2 separate regions of the Homo sapiens genome follow, and region 2 is linked to region 1. The links are contacts of gene promoters, found by promoter capture Hi-C in human tissues and cell types (Jung and others, 2019). All regions are on one chromosome and are shown on one strand. Each heading gives the region's core, a stretch centred on a gene start or on the middle of the fragment in contact. The rest is flanking DNA. Distances are from core to core; before and after follow the strand shown.

The links. Contacts are between HindIII fragments. The study calls those that stand out against the background at their distance.
Region 2: the fragment with the promoter of PCDHGB1 here is called in contact with a fragment that was not itself captured in region 1 in 2 of the 25 tissues and cell types used here (H1 embryonic stem cells and heart left ventricle).

Annotation. Positions count from the first base shown.
Region 1 is chr5:141,460,569-141,463,835 of GRCh38, reverse strand. The region is part of intron 1 of PCDHGA1 (protocadherin gamma subfamily A, 1); the gene reads right to left. The region is part of intron 1 of PCDHGA2 (protocadherin gamma subfamily A, 2); the gene reads right to left. The region is part of intron 1 of PCDHGA3 (protocadherin gamma subfamily A, 3); the gene reads right to left. The region is part of intron 1 of PCDHGB1 (protocadherin gamma subfamily B, 1); the gene reads right to left. It also overlaps PCDHGA4, PCDHGB2, PCDHGA5, PCDHGB3, PCDHGA6 and PCDHGA7, and 10 more genes. Among named protein-coding and RNA genes, the nearest start is that of PCDHGC3, 14 kb to the left of the region's middle. The HindIII fragment of the contact is 8,589 bases long and covers 1-3,267 here.
Region 2 is chr5:141,348,164-141,351,424 of GRCh38, reverse strand. PCDHGB1 (protocadherin gamma subfamily B, 1) reads right to left here and starts at 1,326. Exons shown (of 4, transcript NM_018922.3): 1 at 1-1,326. The coding sequence starts at 1,164. All of the region lies in intron 1 of PCDHGA1 (protocadherin gamma subfamily A, 1), which reads right to left. The region is part of intron 1 of PCDHGA2 (protocadherin gamma subfamily A, 2); the gene reads right to left. The region is part of intron 1 of PCDHGA3 (protocadherin gamma subfamily A, 3); the gene reads right to left. It also overlaps PCDHG@. The HindIII fragment of the contact is 8,983 bases long and covers 1-3,261 here.

The DNA of each region.
Region 1 (3,267 bases), core at 763-3,262:
CTGGGAAGTGGATCAAAATGTGTGATAAAAGCTTTTAGACATTTGTTCAAAAGACAGTGCAGGATTCTAACCCATAAGAGAAGAGAAGCAGGCCGGGCGCGGTGGCTCATGCCTGTAATCCCAGCACTTTTGGAGGCCGAGGTGAGCAGATCACGAGGTCATCCAGACCATCCTGGCTAACACGGTGAAACCCCGTCTCTACTAAACAAAATACAAAAAATTAGCCGGGCATGGTGGCAGGCACCTGTAGTCCCAGCTACTCGGGAGGCTGAGGCAGGAGAATGGCATGAACCCGGGAGCCGGAGTTTCTAGTAAGCCGAGATCACGCCACGTCACTCCAGCCTGGGTGACAGAGCGAGACTCCATCTCAAAAAAAAAAAAAAAAAAAAAAAAAAAAGGAGAAGGAAATGAGGATCCGCAAACTAGGATCTCCATTTTTTTTGCCTGGAGACAACTTTCAGACTGTGGGGCAGGAAAGGGGAAATCCAAGAATAACACCATGGTTTTGCTGAGTTGAGGAATAGATATTAGAGTTTGGGGAGATTAGGAGATTGAGGCAGCCAGAATTTATGGGATAGAGTACTAAAGAGAATGGAGCTACACAAAGAACTCCAGGAATATTAATATGGATCCCCAAGTCTTTGGCTAAATAATAATCTGAGCATACATAGAGTGCACTGACACTTTTCTGCAGCTGGGCGAAGAACTGCCAGGGAGCTATTAGCTGAATTCTTGATGGTCACATAGGGCTGGAAAATGTTTGAATTTCATTTAGCCATAATAAAGAGACCCTGCTGAACACTCAGATTAATCAAAAAAGTCAGAATTAAGTGGTAGGTCTAAATTAGCCCAAGGCAAAAGTTACTACAGACCTGTCCTAACAAAGCTTAAAAACAAGCCTTGAAAAGATCAACCTGATCTGCAAAAAACATAATAGCCTTCCAAAACAAACTGCAATAGTTCTTAAAGAAAGACAAAATCCAAACACTCAAAAATATAACATTTACAATGTCTGCTGTCCAATAAAAACATTATTAGACATGCAAATAAGCAACAAATTATGACCCCAAGCCAGGAAGAAAATCATCATAGGAATTACAGAGGTGACAAAATTAGCAGACAAGGACTTTAAAACCTCCATTATAAATGTGCTCAAAAATTTAAAGAAAAATATGAAGATAATTGAGGATGGAAATGAAAGAGTCAAATGGAACTTCTAAAAGTGAAAAATACAATATATGAAATGGAAACTTCACTGGATGGGATTAGCAAATACAGTAAACACTGAAGAAGAAAAGATCACTGAACAACACTCTTACTAACTTGATCTAGTTGACAATTATAGGATACAACAACCACGAGAAGCAGAATACACAGTTTTCAGTTACACAGTTGTGTGTAAGCAACACTCACCAAGATAGACCATATTCTGTGCCATAAAAGAAATGTTAACGAATTTAAAAGAATAGAAACTATACAATGTATATTTTTGGATCACAATACAATTAAATTAGAAATCAGTGACAAATATATTTGGGTAATACTTACATATTTGGTGACTAAACAATACACTTTAGGCTGGTCATGGTGGCTCATACCTGTAATCCCTGCACTTTGGGAGGCCGAGGCAGGCGGATCACCTGAGGTCAGGAGTTCAAGACCAGCCTGGCCAACATGATGAAACCCCATCTCTACTAAAAATACAAAAAATTGGACTGGGTGCAGTGGCTCATGCCTGTAATCCCAGCATTTTGGGAGGCCAAGGCGGGCAGATCACCTGAGGTCGGGAGTTCAAGACCCGCCTGACCAACATGAAGAAACCCCGTCTCTATTAAAAATACAAAATTAGCCTGGCGTGGTGGCATATGCCTGGAATCCCAGCTACTCAGGAGGTTGAGGCAGGAGAATTGCTGGAACCCAGGAGGCAGAGGTTGCAGTGAGCCGAGATCGTGCCATTGCACTCCAGCCTGGGCAACAAGAGCAAAACTCTGTCTCAAAAAAAAAAGAAAAAAAAATTAGCTGGGTGTGGTGGTGGGCACCTGTAATCCCAGCTACTTGGGAGGCTGAGGCAGGAGAATCGCTTGAATCTGGGAGCCGGGATTGTGCCACTGCACTCCAGCCTGGGCAAAAAAAGTGAAACTCTGTCTCAAAATAAACAAACAAAATAACAAACTTTAAAATAATCCATGGGTCAAAGAAGAAATTGCAAGGTGTATTAGAAAATACTTTGAACTAAATTATAATGGAAATATAACATCCAAAATATTATCTTTGCAAAGTACACATCTGACAAAGGACTAGTATCCAGAATCTACAAGGAACTAACAAATCACCAAGAAAAATAAAACACAATCCCATTAAAAAGTAGGCAAAGGACACAAATAGCCATTTCTCAAAAGAAGGTATACAAATGGCCCACAAACATATGAAAAAATGCTCAACATCGCTAATCATCAGGAAAATGCAAATTAAAACCACAACGAGCTACCACCTTGGTCCTGCAAGAATGGCCATTATTAAAAAGTCAAAAAACAATAGATGTTGGTGTGGATGTGGGGAAAAGAGAACACTTACACATTGCTGCTGGGAATATAAATTAGTACAACCTCTATGGAAAACAGTATGGAGATTCTCTAAAGAGCAAAAAACAGATCTACCATTCAATCCAGCAATCCCACTATTGGGTATCTACCCAAAGGAAAATAAGTAATTATATGAAAAAGACACTTGGACACATATGTTTATAGCAGCACAATTCACAATTGCAAAAATGTGAAACCAACCTAAGTCCCCATCGACTAATGAGTGGATAAAGAAAATGTGGTATATATATATACACATATATATATATACACACACACACACACACACACATATATATATACATAATACATATATATACACACACACATATATATATATACACCATGGAATATTACTCAGCCACGAAAAGGCATGAAATAATGTCCTTTGCAGCAACTTGGATCGAACTGGAGGCCATTACTTTAAGTGTGTATATATGTATACATACATATATATACTTTGTGTGTATATATGTATACATACATATGCAATATGTATATGTACACATATATATACAATGTGTATATATGCTTATAACAATAGTTTATTCTCATTCAACTGTTGGTGGATATATAGATATATAACTGTGTTTACAGTTACATATGTGTAAACACAGTTATATATCTGTATCTGTCTATCTATCCATCTAACACAGAGAGCCCAGAAAAAACCCACACCTACATA
Region 2 (3,261 bases), core at 77-2,576, 110 kb after region 1:
GAAAGGAACTTCTTCCTGAGTATAGCATGTCACCATGCCATTTTGCCCAGAATCCTTGTCTCGCACTTTTATGAGGGCTATTACAGTTCCAAGGTCTGAATCCTCTGGAATCTGGTTAGAGAAGGACATGAATGTCACCTCTGGGGCATTGTCATTCTCGTCAACAATTTCTATTTGAACATTACAGTGAGCTGTGTGTACTCCTCCATCCTTAGCTTCCACACTCAACACATATCTACTTGTCTCTTCAAAATCCAATGTGCCATTGGTTGTGATGTCGCCAGTATTTGGATTGAGATTGAAGAGGCTGGTACTTATTGGGGAATTGAGGAAGGCATAGGTGATCTCTGCATTAATGCCCTCATCCTGGTCTGTGGCCATCACCCGCAGCACGGAGGTTCCCCACGGTACGTTTTCTTGGAGGCTAACCCTGTATACCTCCTGGCTAAACACGGGAGCATTATCATTGGCATCCGTAACTCGGATCCAGATATGGGTGGTGCCGCTTAGAGGCGGGTCCCCGCCATCCATGGCAGTCAGGATTAAGCGATGAGAGCTCTGATGTTCCCTGTCTAGAGGTTTTTCCAGCAGTAATACCGGATATTTACTTCCATCAGGACTTTCCTTCGTTGACAGAGAGAAGTATTGATTGGGGTTGATGGTGTATAACTTCAGTGAATTGCCTTCCACATCTGCATCTTGAGCAGAATCCAGAGAGAATTTTACCCCGGGTAAGGCTGACTCACAAATTTCTAAGTCAATGCCTTTTGCAACGAAACGTGGTGCATTGTCATTAATATCTTGGATTACAACAACCACGTGGAAAACATTCATTGGGTTTTCAGCGACCGTTTCGAATTCTAGTGCACACTCAAGTTTCCTTCCGCAAATCTTCTCTCGATCTATCCTACCGTTCACTAACAAATCCCCGCTCTCCAAACTAACGTTGAAATAATCCTCTGCACTAACCCGCAGTTTTCGAGTTGGCAACTCCCGGACACTGAGCCCCAGATCCTTGGCAAGTTTCCCCACCCGTGAGCCGTTGGCTAGCTCCTCTGGAATCGTGTATCGGATCTGCTGGGAGATGGCCCCGCAGAACAAAGACAGCAGGAAGGGAAACAGTACCTGACTTTTCATCATTTCGGCTTCTCTGGCTCTCTGCATTTCAGGAACTCTCCGCGGAGCTTCTTTCCTCTGGGATGTTTTTCAAAAAGAAATGGCAGCACCCTGGACTTCTGTGATTTGAGCTTAGGACTTATTAGTTAGGCGCTCGAGGGTGAACAGGAGCAGCGTCTGTGCTCAGTGCACCGGACAAAGCAGGAAGGCACCCTGCCTGACGCTCCTGCAGAATTGAGAAGCCTTCACTTCCTTTTGGTCGACAGCGGCGCCCAGAGGTTGTCTTGGAAAACTGCACAGGGCCCAGCTTTTTATCCTCAAAGCGCAACCTCTTGAATCTATGTACCCTGTCTTTAATTTGCTGGAGGGAAACACATACTCACATTTTCCCCTTTACATTTCAGTTTTCTAGTTTGTCATCATCAGATAAGGGCCTTCATCATTTCGTATTCTTTTTTCATTTAAAAAATTCACAAGGTACACTGCCATTTTTTTCAGTTTTGGGGGTAAAAAAAAATCTTCAGTGATTTCACTATATTTATAAACTCTGGCATGACTGCTGTATCCAAATAAGTGAATTGATAATTTTTATTTATATTTTTAGTTGACTAAAATACCTACCTTTCTGTAAATTCATTGGAATAAGCTCCCTTATCTAGTATTTTAAATCTCTCCATATATATGTTATCAATTCAGTAATACTTTTCAAAAATAGTTTTTGCAAAAAAGAGGAAATCACAGCCTTACTATTATGTTATTTCTCTTCTTTATAAAATATAGATAATCTTTCCAGTTAAGTAGGACAAAGTCTGATATTTTGTTAAAAGGGCCAATTTAGTGTTGGGGTACACATACATGCTTTTATGAAGTGGAATCTCATATAATGTACATTTGTTTTATGAAACCAGTGCTTCTTTTTTATATGAATGTATATTAAATACTCTAGGCTGGGTGCAGTGACCTGTGATCCCAGCACTTTGGGAGGCCAAGGTGGGAAGAACACATGAGGTCAGGAGTTTGAGACTAGCCTGTCCAACATGGTGCAAGCCATCTCTACTAAAAAAAATAAAAATTATCCAGGCATGGTGGCGGGTACCTGTAACGCCAGCTACTCGGGAGGTTGAGGCAGCAGAATCACTTAACTCAGGAGGCAGAGGTTGCAGTGAGTTGAGATCATGCCACTGAAGTCCATCCTGGGTGACAGAGCAAGACTCTGTCTCAAAAACATTCTCTATAATGCCAATTCTCAGCTCCAGCCGACTTATACCATTAATGAGCAAAACGAGTTTGACTTGACCACTGGTAAATATTGGAGAGGTATTCAGAGTTCTTAGACACCCAATTTTGGAACTTATTCTGTAGTTCCAGGCTTAGAACCAGTCTTGGTTCAAAGCAAATCCCTTTATTTCAAATGCATTACCAAATGAGATCCAACTCAACAATTTATTCTACTATTTTGCAGTGCTCACCCATACTCATACTCTATTCGAAACAGCCTATTATCTGTTTTCTTAAGATACCTTTTCACTTGTTTCCTTGCATCATGCCTTTATACTTTCCATTCCTTTTACTATGAACTTCTCCTCCCTTTCTGTTGTAGTGGATTCTTGCCCATTCTTCAAAAAAATAAAAATAAATCCTTTTTAGTGAAAATGGGATGTCTGAGACCTTCCATTACCTGTACAAGTAGGTGGAATTGTATGGGTTCCATACTCTCAGTGTATTTTCATGACACATATGTAGGCTATGTTTCATATAGAATTCTTAGAAATTATCTTTGAGCATCCAAATTTCCCCTGACACAGCTAATTAATTTTTTTTCTCCTTACAGGGAAAGTGATACTAATACTATAAACATTTTTTTTTCTAAAAATGATATGTTAAAAGTTACGTGCCTTTTTCTTTTGAGACAGGGTCATGCTATGTTGCCCAAGTAGGTCTCAAAGTCCTAGGCTCAGAAGTCCTCCCCTGGCTATGGGCCTTTTAAATTCTGTGATGTATTTCCATGTTTCAGTGAGAATACACCTTACTCTGCTTACAGCTTTTGTGTTCTGGCCCTGTTGTCTCATACATTTAAATGTGCCTTTTCCTAATATATTGAGGGAGGAATCTATTCTTTTGTTTGAGTTCTAATAAAACATATTT